Regions from separate parts of the Homo sapiens genome. Here region 2 is linked to region 1. The links are contacts of gene promoters, found by promoter capture Hi-C in blood cells and fetal thymus (Javierre and others, 2016). All regions are on one chromosome and are shown on one strand. Each heading gives the region's core, a stretch centred on a gene start or on the middle of the fragment in contact. The rest is flanking DNA. Distances are from core to core; before and after follow the strand shown.

Region 1 (5,023 bases), core at 2,174-4,673:
TATAAACAATGTTCCAATTATTCCCATGATATGTGCGCTTGTGTTTGTGTATTTGCAAATTTGTTCCATTCTTTCCCAGAAGTAAAATTGCTAAGTCAAATGTATACATTTTTTTAAAAGGCTTTTCACAAATGCTATTAAACTGCCTTCCAGCAATGTTGTACCAATTAAAAATTCCACTAGTAGGGTATGGATATCCATTTTCCTGTTGAACCTCCTATCACATTTACTGGCCATTTTGGGTTTTGTTTCTGTTGCACATATTTTTCAGTTCGAACGTTCATCTTTATTTTCTTGTTGATTTGTAAAAACTCTACATTGAGGGTTTTTACCCTTGCCATATGTGTTGTTGTTGAGTTGACATTTAAGAGAAGATTAAAACTAAAATAAAATAATAAGACAAGAAAATGTTTTAGCTAATAAAAATAAGAAAAAAAAGTTACTTTAAAAGCAAGATATAAGATTCAGATGAGACAAGTTCAAGAAAGCCAGAATAGAAAGAGGAAACTTTAAGGTAAAACAAGTAGAAAAATACAAAATATATAAACAATATCAATAAAATCAAAGAGAAGTTCTAGAACAATGACTACATTCTAATTTGTATAATAGAAGCTACTCATAAGAAAACAAAACTGGTGGTTGTGGAAGACAATATTACTTACCTTGGGTAGGCCAGGGACAGCGTCTCAGATCTTTAATCAAGTTCTTGGTAGAGATTGGCAGAAAAGATCAAAACGGGAATAGTATACAAATCTTTTGCAGTGCTCTATTCACTTGTTCAGACCATTAGCAAATCCTCCTGAGGAGTCCAAATCCATTTAAAGCTACATTTAAGACGGGCAACAGATAAAAAAGTAGGTAAGCAAAGAATTACAAAAAACAGGATGAAGTCTTGATGGGAGCAGGTTAATCTGTCATTTTAATCACATTGTCTCTTTGTCCACTAATTAGATCAAGAAGCTATTACAGTTGCAGACACTAAGAAGTGACTTCTCGTGAAGAAACAGAGAGAGAGGAGGAGAGAGGGAGAGAGAGAGAGAGAGAGAGAGAGAGGACTTATCCCACCTACTCCAGATTTCCAGATTTAGCGTAAGATAGATTGAACTAAACATGAGATTTCAAGGAGATATATAGCCTAAGAGTGTTTTTTTCTTGAGAGCATATGACACTTAGTCTGTCCGGAATAGTTTGAGAACAGTTTTACTATTTTTCCCATTTTACGTATGAGGACACTAAGGTTCAAAAAGGATAAGCGACTTGCTTCATCAAAGCGCTCCCAACAGTGAACTGTGGAGCTGGAATCAGAAACAACTCCAGACCAGTGCTGCCCGATAGAGATATAACTTGAGCCACATAGGTTATTTAAAATTTTCTAGTAGACGCATTTAAAAAATAAAAGAAACAATTTAATTAACTCTAATAATGTTTTATTTAGCACAGTACATTTAGACTATCATTTTAACATGTAATCAATATTAAAATGGGATACTTTACATTCCATTTTTCATGCTTGATCTGAAATATCTAATACATCTTTTACATTTACAGCACATCCTAATTTGCAGTAGCCAAATTTCCAATACTGAAGTACATTTCAAGTACTTAACAGTCATGTGGCTAGTGGCTACCTCCTCGGACAGCCCAATTCTAGAACTATGGTCCTCAAGGTGCTGTCTCCAGATTGGCTGTATCAACATCACCTGGGAACTTGCTAAATGTGCAAATTCTTGGGCACCATCCCAAACCCCCTAAATCAGAACCTCAGGTGGTTAAACACAGCAATTCATGTTTAAGCAAGCCCCTTCAGTTATTTCTGATACATGTCAAAGTTTGAGAACCATTGCTCTACCCAACTGCCTCTGCATCCCAATCCAAATAAACCCAGAGCAGCCATTGCGGACTAGCCCTGAGGACGAAGAGCCTCTGCTCTTGAGATAAGCAATTCTTGGCTAAATGAAGCTGGCTTTCTCTTGTATGGAAATATCCTAGTCCTAGCTATGGTTCCATTTCTTGGGATTATGGAATTTCCAGACACAATTTAAACATGGTTTAATTTGTCATTTTGTTTAAGGAAAAGGAAAAAAATCCAGTAACCTCTGTATACTGTCACCTTGAGTTAGTTACTTAACTTTTCTTTTCCTCAGTTTCCTCCTCCATAGGATGCAGATCATTTAATAAATGTTAGCAACTTTTCTTAAAAAGTAGTGTGTACAAAAAGAAAAAAGTCAGCAAAAGGGACAGATTTTTTTAAACTACAGTAAAAACAAGTAGTGGGCCGGAAAGGCAATATTATAGATTTTGAGCACAGAAGCAGAAGCTGATTCACTTATAATTTCTTAGAACATTAGATTTGCTGAGGGGGAAGGTAGGGTTCTTGCCAAAATCATTAAGGAGAGCGATTCTGAGTATGCCTTAAAGCAGAACTTTCAGTAAACAGGAATTACCTATAAAGAAAATCAGGAAGCCAAAGTGTTTCTTTTTATGAAGTTACATCCTGCCATAGAAAAGCTGGATAGGAAATAAAGACCGATGCACTCCCAACTGTATACTAAACCGGCAATTATTTCATCAAGGGAAATATGAGCAAAAGCTCAGATTCAGTGAAGGGGAAAAAAACATGAGAAGTTTGAATGTTATGAGAAACCAAAGACAACCAATGACTACAATTAAACGAGGTTTTTTGGGGGTGGGGCGGGGAATGTACGAACAAATCTCTGTCATTTCAGGTTCCTTAGTCGCCGCTTGGCCCCTCCCCCTATTTCAGTAATACTTCCTCCAGACTTTTGCTAGAAAAAAAATATAAATGAGTGTCCGCAGAAATAGGGGACTGATAAAATGATCCTAATCTCCTTCTCCTCCTCATTGTTATTTGTTGTGCGTTTCCACGTTTCAGGACAGGATTCTACTTTGCTCCGTACTCTTTTCAGTTTGATCAAAGAAAACGCTGCTATCACCGCCCAATTTTCCATTTCATCCTCTCACCCTCAAATGAAAAGACACCAGAAAGGCAAGATAGCCCTGTCTCGAGGCAGTTTCCCATGGTTTTGGGGGAATGGCAGGTGCCAATCTGCAGCAGCAGCTGCAACCTTCCGCAAAGCGGAAACTGCAGTTCACACTCTCCGCTCTTTCTCCCGCCCTACTCCGCCACCTCACAACTCCACACAATCCTTAAAAACACACAGACCTCCTCCTCCAACCTCGCATTTTCTTGCACACCCTGCACCGCACGCACCCTGGGATGCCCGCTGCCACAGTAACGCTCAACCCACTCGGCGGCCCCACCTACTGCCGTCCCGCCCACGCCCCAGGCGCCAATGGTTGCGGCTCGCAGCTCCCAAGGGGCTCTTTGATAGGGCAGCCGGGCCTGTCACTCTCGAGGCGCGCCCCGCCCCCTCCTCGCTCCCCTCCGGAGCTGGAGGGGCAGAGCATCAGCAAGAGTAGCAGCGAGCAGCCGCGCTGGTGGCGGCGGCGCGTCGTTGCAGTTGCGCCATCTGTCAGGAGCGGAGCCGGCGAGGAGGGGGCTGCCGCGGGCGAGGAGGAGGGGTCGCCGCGAGCCGAAGGCCTTCGAGACCCGCCCGCCGCCCGGCGGCGAGAGTAGAGGCGAGGTTGTTGTGCGAGCGGCGCGTCCTCTCCCGCCCGGGCGCGCCGCGCTTCTCCCAGCGCACCGAGGACCGCCCGGGCGCACACAAAGCCGCCGCCCGCGCCGCACCGCCCGGCGGCCGCCGCCCGCGCCAGGGAGGGATTCGGCCGCCGGGCCGGGGACACCCCGGCGCCGCCCCCTCGGTGCTCTCGGAAGGCCCACCGGCTCCCGGGCCCGCCGGGGACCCCCCGGAGCCGCCTCGGCCGCGCCGGAGGAGGGCGGGGAGAGGACCATGTGAGTGGGCTCCGGAGCCTCAGCGCCGCGCAGGTAAGCAGGCGGCGGGGATGCGTCGCGGGAGGCCTCGGGGATGCTGCGGAGAAGCCCGGCCGCCGGCGCCCCCGCGCACGCCGCCCCCGCCGCAGGGCCCGGTGCTGCGGTCCCTTGGCCGCCAGGGCGCTCCGCGGGGCTGCCGGGGAGTCGGTGCTTGGGGTCTTCCCGCGGTTGCACCGGAGGACACCCCTGCGGGGTGCGGCCCCGAGGCAGCGCGGGGATGGGGACCCCATTTCCTCGCCCGCAAGCGGGCGCCGGGTGAAAATGGGAATTGGCTTGGGGGCGAGGCTGGCCCAGACTCCGCCCCCGCCCTCCTTTTGGGGCCCCCCGCGGGGACTGGGGCTGTGTGTGTTGTTTTAATGTCAGGGATGATGTAATCACTTAATAATTGATGCCCCGTGCTGCTTCCCTCCCCACCCAACCCCTGCCCCACTCCTCCACCTCTCGGCCTCCTCCCTCGGCGGCGGTCGCCTTCTCCAACCCATCCTCCTGCCTATTTCTGGCACCTCCCTTGCACTTCCCCCATCCTCCCCTTCACTCTTCCTGTGCCACCACCCACCCACCCTTCCCCTTTCCCCTGTGCTGGAGCCTTCCCTCCTCTTCCTCTGTCCCCCACCCCTCTGCTCCCTCCAGCTCTTTTCTCCTTCCTTTCCGGCTCCCTCGCTGGATTTCCTCTCTACTTCCCTAGATCCATGGCTGTTTTTGTTTGGGCTCCTCCCCTCTGTTATCTCTGCGGCCACAGGCGGAGGGGACTGGGCCAGAAGGAGGCCACCGAGCTTGGGCCCAGCAGAGATGTGCTGGGACTCACTGGGAAGAGGGATAATAAAATCACCCTTCTTGCCCCTCCTTCCCCCAATAAATCACACAGACTCGCCGGGTGTGTGAGTGTGAGTGTGACACAAAGAGCCCTTTCAGTGCATAGAGAGGAGACACACAAAGTACCCTAGGATAGGCACGATGCTTCTTGTCTCTCTTCCCTGGGGCTTCCCTTTCTTTCCCATGAAGCAGTTGATCTCTCTGAGTCTTTCCTGCCACATTTACCAAAAAATAAAAGAACCCCCGGATGCCGGGTGGCAGGTGTCGGCATTTTGCTGTGTTCAGAGACCGGTAGTG
Region 2 (4,951 bases), core at 1,541-4,040, 630 kb after region 1:
ACATTGTGTGGCTTACCACATTTTTCAATCATTGTGCTATTCTGAAAGAAACAATAAAACCATCTTTCTGATTAGGAAAAATTTGTTAAACATTCCAATGATAGTAAGACAGCTTTCAAAGTTCTCAGGATGCTGTATCTCTGCCAACTTATTGCTCTGTTTCTTTGTAAAGTGGTCACTTAATCTTCATGGTTTCATTGCTTCCTGAGAGAAAAACATGTTAACAAAATGGAAATATTGGTAACTGTTCATTTGTGGACAAAGATATAAGACCTAATTTGAAATATCCAACTGAATATTGATACTTTTCTTCATAATTAGTGAAATAAGGACTGAATAAATATATTAATATAGGTAGAGAACAATCACTGTAAGTGCAACGTTATACATACAGACTGAGTTGTAGTAGGTGAGTATCAACTACTCAAATACCACGAGTGACGTTATTGCCCTTGATGATTTTCCAAAATGGAGAACCTAAAACAAAACGCAACCTTCCCTTGTGTTACATGATATTTTACTTTCTTGGAAAACTCATTTATTGAAACTATGCTAAAAATACTTGGTGCCTATATGTACAAGAGAGAGTCTGGGCTCAGATAATCAAAAAGAAATATTTTTCCTTCATATGAATATTTGGCAGGACATTCAAAAATTGGACAGTATGTGGGACTATCCCACACATGTGGAGCTCTAGCATGTTGAGCCTCTGCCCACTAAATGCTAATAGCAGAGTTACTATGACACCCTCACACATTTTCAAAGCACCCCCTGCAGCCTGCAGGACTTCATGTTTTTTATTTATTTATTGAAGACAGAGTCTCGCTCTGTCAACAGGCTGGAGTGCAGTGGTGCGACCTTGGCTCCCTGAAACCTCCACCTCCTAGGTTCAAGCGATTCTCCTGCCTCAGCCTTCCAAGTAGCAGGGACTGCAGGTGCGCGCCACCACGCCCAGCTAATTTTTTTATTTTTTGTAGAGAAGGGGTTTCACCATGTTGGCTAGGATGGTCTCGATCTGCTGACCTCGTGATCCACTGGCCTTGGCCTCCCAAAGTGCTGGGATTACAGGTATGAGCCACCACATCCGGCTTCATCTTTTTTTTTTTTTTAACTGCTCCTTCAATTGAGAATCACAAGATAAAAAGCATCTGCCTCAAAGGTTTAATACCTTTAGCATCAAAGGTTTAATACCTTTAGCATCATTTGAGACTCAAATCATTAAACTCAAAGGTTTAATACATTTAGCATCTTTTCAGAAAATACTATTTGCTGAGAATGCTCAAATGGCCAGGGCAACAGAAGAGAGTGGTATTCTCTCTAAATGCTACGAGGATTCTAGATAAAAGTCTTCTTTTCCAAGTTACTTCTTGATAAAAGTTCATATATCATAAGACATTCAGAGGTACTTTTTTTTCTTCTTAAGCACCAAAGCTCTTTTGGATTTGTACGCATAGGATGAAGAATGGCAATTGCTAGGCAGTAGAGCCTCACCAATGAAAGTTGTTTGCTCTCCAGTATCTGAAGAGACTAGTCTTTGTTTGAAAACCTTGTGATAATGTCACTTGGGGCAGACACCTTGGAAGAGGATGCCCATTCTCTTCAAGACCCATGATAACCATCCTTTATTGCCACTAGCCCCATAACTAGGATCAAATCTTGACATCTCCAGGTGGGCAGGTACACACTATGATCCAGGAGGAAATAACACCAAAATAACTGCAATATTTTGTTAATATATATGAATGGAAACCTGGTGAATGTGTGGAAGTGGATGCTAAAGGTATTAAACCAAGGAAAACAGAATAGAACACTAGATCCAGCTGAATTCACTGCTATGGATACACTTTACTAGGGACTGCAGGTTCAAAGTGTCAGTCCATGCAGCTGGAGATGGCTGTAAAAGCTTACTTGGTTGGTTGACTAAAAATTTCGACTCACTGGTGGTCTACAGTTAATGAGGTTGAAATGCTGGAGCTTCCTTGGCATGATGTGAAGGAAGTAATCCAAAGGCTAGCCTCTGTCTTTTTCCATAGCAAACTTCAATGCTGGAAGATTTTTGAGAAATGGCTACAAAATCCCATAGGAAAGAAAACATGAGCCAAATATTTTCAGGTGTAAAGACAAAAGATAAATAGTTTGAAGATGAAAGAACTCTTGGAATATTATTTTCATAAATCCATTTGAGAAATGTTAGAAGGTTCAGTAGAACAAGAGATGAGTGGAGAAACAACTGCAGACGGGATTGGCAGTGAGCTTTGATGCAAATCACAGGACAAAGACAAATATGAGGATTACGGTGGAAAGATGGAATTTAAATGTTATTAGCCCTGATGATGTAGAAATGATAGAGCAATAAAAAGTGGAAAGCAATGGATGGAAAAGGATGAAAATATACTGATTTTTTTGTTTGTTTGCTGGATACTATGGTGTGTGTCTGTAATCCTAGCTACTTGGGGGGCTGAGGCAGGAGGATTGTTTGAGCTCAGGAATTTGAGACTAGCCTGAGCAAAATAGTAAGACCCCATCTCTAAACAATTAAAAATTATATATATGAAATAAAGTATACTGATTCCTCATCTTTAATAACTAGAGGTGAAAAGTTATTACTTAAAGCTAATTAAATGAATAGTAGAGTTATAAGTATAAAATGGAATAATACAGAGGTAAAATAATTAGAGGTAAACATGAAGAAAGATAATATTACTAAAATCAGGTGATAGAGAGGGGGAGATGGAGGAAAAAATATGTTAATTCTGTCATTGTAAATAGAAGAAAACTATTATATACTGTTGGAGTGGGGGAAGGAGGAGAAGATGAATTATTCAGTGAGTAGTAACTAGTATCAAGAAAACTGGAAAAATCCAGTTGACCCTTCAACAGCACAAATTTGAACTGCATGAGTCCACTTATATGTGAATTTTTTTCAATAAATATATGGAAATTTTGGGGGGATATTTGCAACAATTATAAAAAACTTGCAGACAAATCACATAGCCTAGAAATATGGAAAAAAGAAAATGTTAGGTATGTCATCAACGCATAAAAATATGTAGACACTTGTCTATTTTTATCATTTACTACCATAAAATATACACAAATCTATTATTAAAATGTTAAAATGTATCAAAATTTACACACACAAACATCAGACTACACATGGCGCCATTTGCAGTCCAGAGAAATGGAAACAAATGTGAAGATGCAGTATTAAATCATAACTGCATACAACTCACTGTAGTACACACTGTACTGCTGGAATAATTTTGCAGCTGCCTCTCGTTGTTGTCGTGGTGGGCTCCAGTGTTGTGAGTATCCACCCAAAACGTTGTGTGACGCTCGTCGGTCATCTCCACTTGCCCAGTTCATCTCTCCAGTAAATTCCATTGAAGTAAAAACTAATTTCTCTCAGTTCTTGCATTTTTTGTGTGTGTTTAGTGTGAGAAAAATGAAATCCTAAGCCCCCCAACCAACTAAACAGACTCCTTTCTCGGCCAAAACTCAGTTCCAGCTGTGACGAGATGGGGGCCTCATTACACCTGCTCCTGCTCTAACTGCTCTTAGGTTTTCTTCCTTAAGGGTTACAGAGAAGCCAGCCCTTCTGAGAGACTTGCTCCACTGCTGATAGCCACCAACCACCTGTCGCTGCCCTTCCATTTGGCAGTTTGGACAAAGCTTTCCTTCCTCATAAGAGACCAGGGTCCACAGAGTGGCTCTGGCCAGTCTACCAAGGATGAGCAGAGAGGTTTTCGTGTTGTCTGCTTCACCACTTGAAATCAGAGGGCCAAAAACTCCACCCTTGGATGGAGGGTGCTAACACTGCCACTTTTTGAACATGGGTCCCATGGAGAAGCATGAAGCTCTATTGTGCATGTGTGTGTTTCTCCTTTCATAAATAATCATAACTCCTCCTATAGCTTATTAAGTATGTATATTTGGCCACCTGCTTCAGCAAATCTCTGTCATACTCTTCCCCCTGTCAAAGTGTCTGTTTTTGGCTTCTGGCTGGAGGCTGTTCTTTCCAGCCTGTCAGAATGGCCACCCTGCAAGCTGCAACCCTTTATAAGAAAGCTCTCCTTTCCAAATGTATGAACCTCCATCGTTCTTCAGTTGACAAGTGCAATACTGTAAACCTTGAATAACACCATGGGACCCATACAAAGTGCCATTAGTGATGCCTGAAGTGCACTCAAGAAGCAGATAAAAGTCATGATATCACAAGAAAAAGCTGAACTCCTTGATATGAACCTTCGATTGAGGTCTGCAGCCACAGGCGCTGACCATTTCAGACAGATGATTCATCTTGTAAACAGACAATGTGAACTTGGTTTGATGAATACAGTAAAATACTGTACATGCATTTTCTCTTAAGATTTTCATAGCTGGGCACAGTGGCTCACATCTGTAATCCCAGCACTTTGGAAGGCCGAGGCAAGAGGATTGCTTGAGCCCAGGAGTTCGAGACTAGCCTAGGTAACATAGTGAGATCTCCCATCTCTACCAAAAAAAAAAAAAAATAGCCAGGCATGGTGGCACGTGCCCGTGGTTTCAGCTTCTCTGGAGGCTGAGGTGGGAGGATTGCTTGAGCCCAGGAGGTCAAGGCTGCAGTGAGCCATGACTGAGCCACTGCACTGCATCCTGGGTGACAGAGCAAGACCGTCTTAAAAACAAAAACATAAAAAGGTTTTCTTAATGACATTTTCTTTTTTCTATCTTAAGAATACAGTATATGATACATATACAAAATATGTGTTAGTTGACTGTTTATGTTATCAGTAAGGCTCTGGTCAATAACAGGCTATTAGGAGTTAAGTTTTGGGGGAGTCAAACATTATGCATGGATTTTCGACTGCATGGAGTGTAGGGACCCCAACCCCTGCATTGTTCAATGGCCATTTTTTTTTTTAAGACAGGTTTTCACTCTGCCACCCAGGCTGGAGTGCAGTTGCATGAC

Evidence for each region. The method cuts DNA at HindIII sites, captures the fragments that hold promoters and counts their contacts. A CHiCAGO score of 5 or more calls a contact.
Region 2: a fragment that was not itself captured here is called in contact with the fragment with the promoter of FYN in region 1 in 1 of 17 cell types (neutrophils); the score reaches 6.2 in neutrophils.

What each region holds. Positions count from the first base shown.
Region 1 is chr6:111,871,852-111,876,874 of GRCh38, reverse strand. FYN (FYN proto-oncogene, Src family tyrosine kinase) reads left to right here and starts at 3,423. Exons shown (of 14, transcript NM_002037.5): 1 at 3,423-3,907. LOC102724646 (a long non-coding RNA gene) reads right to left here and starts at 3,423. Exons shown (of 3, transcript NR_168402.1): 1 at 3,185-3,423; 2 at 663-824; 3 at 1-381. RefSeq lists silencers at 3,294-3,383, 3,504-3,753, 3,904-4,303 and an enhancer at 3,352-3,851. The HindIII fragment of the contact is 15,284 bases long and covers 1-5,023 here.
Region 2 is chr6:111,241,985-111,246,935 of GRCh38, reverse strand. The region is part of intron 1 of SLC60A2-DT (SLC60A2 divergent transcript); the gene reads left to right. Among named protein-coding and RNA genes, the nearest start is that of SLC60A2-DT, 15 kb to the left of the region's middle. The HindIII fragment of the contact is 1,769 bases long and covers 1,906-3,674 here.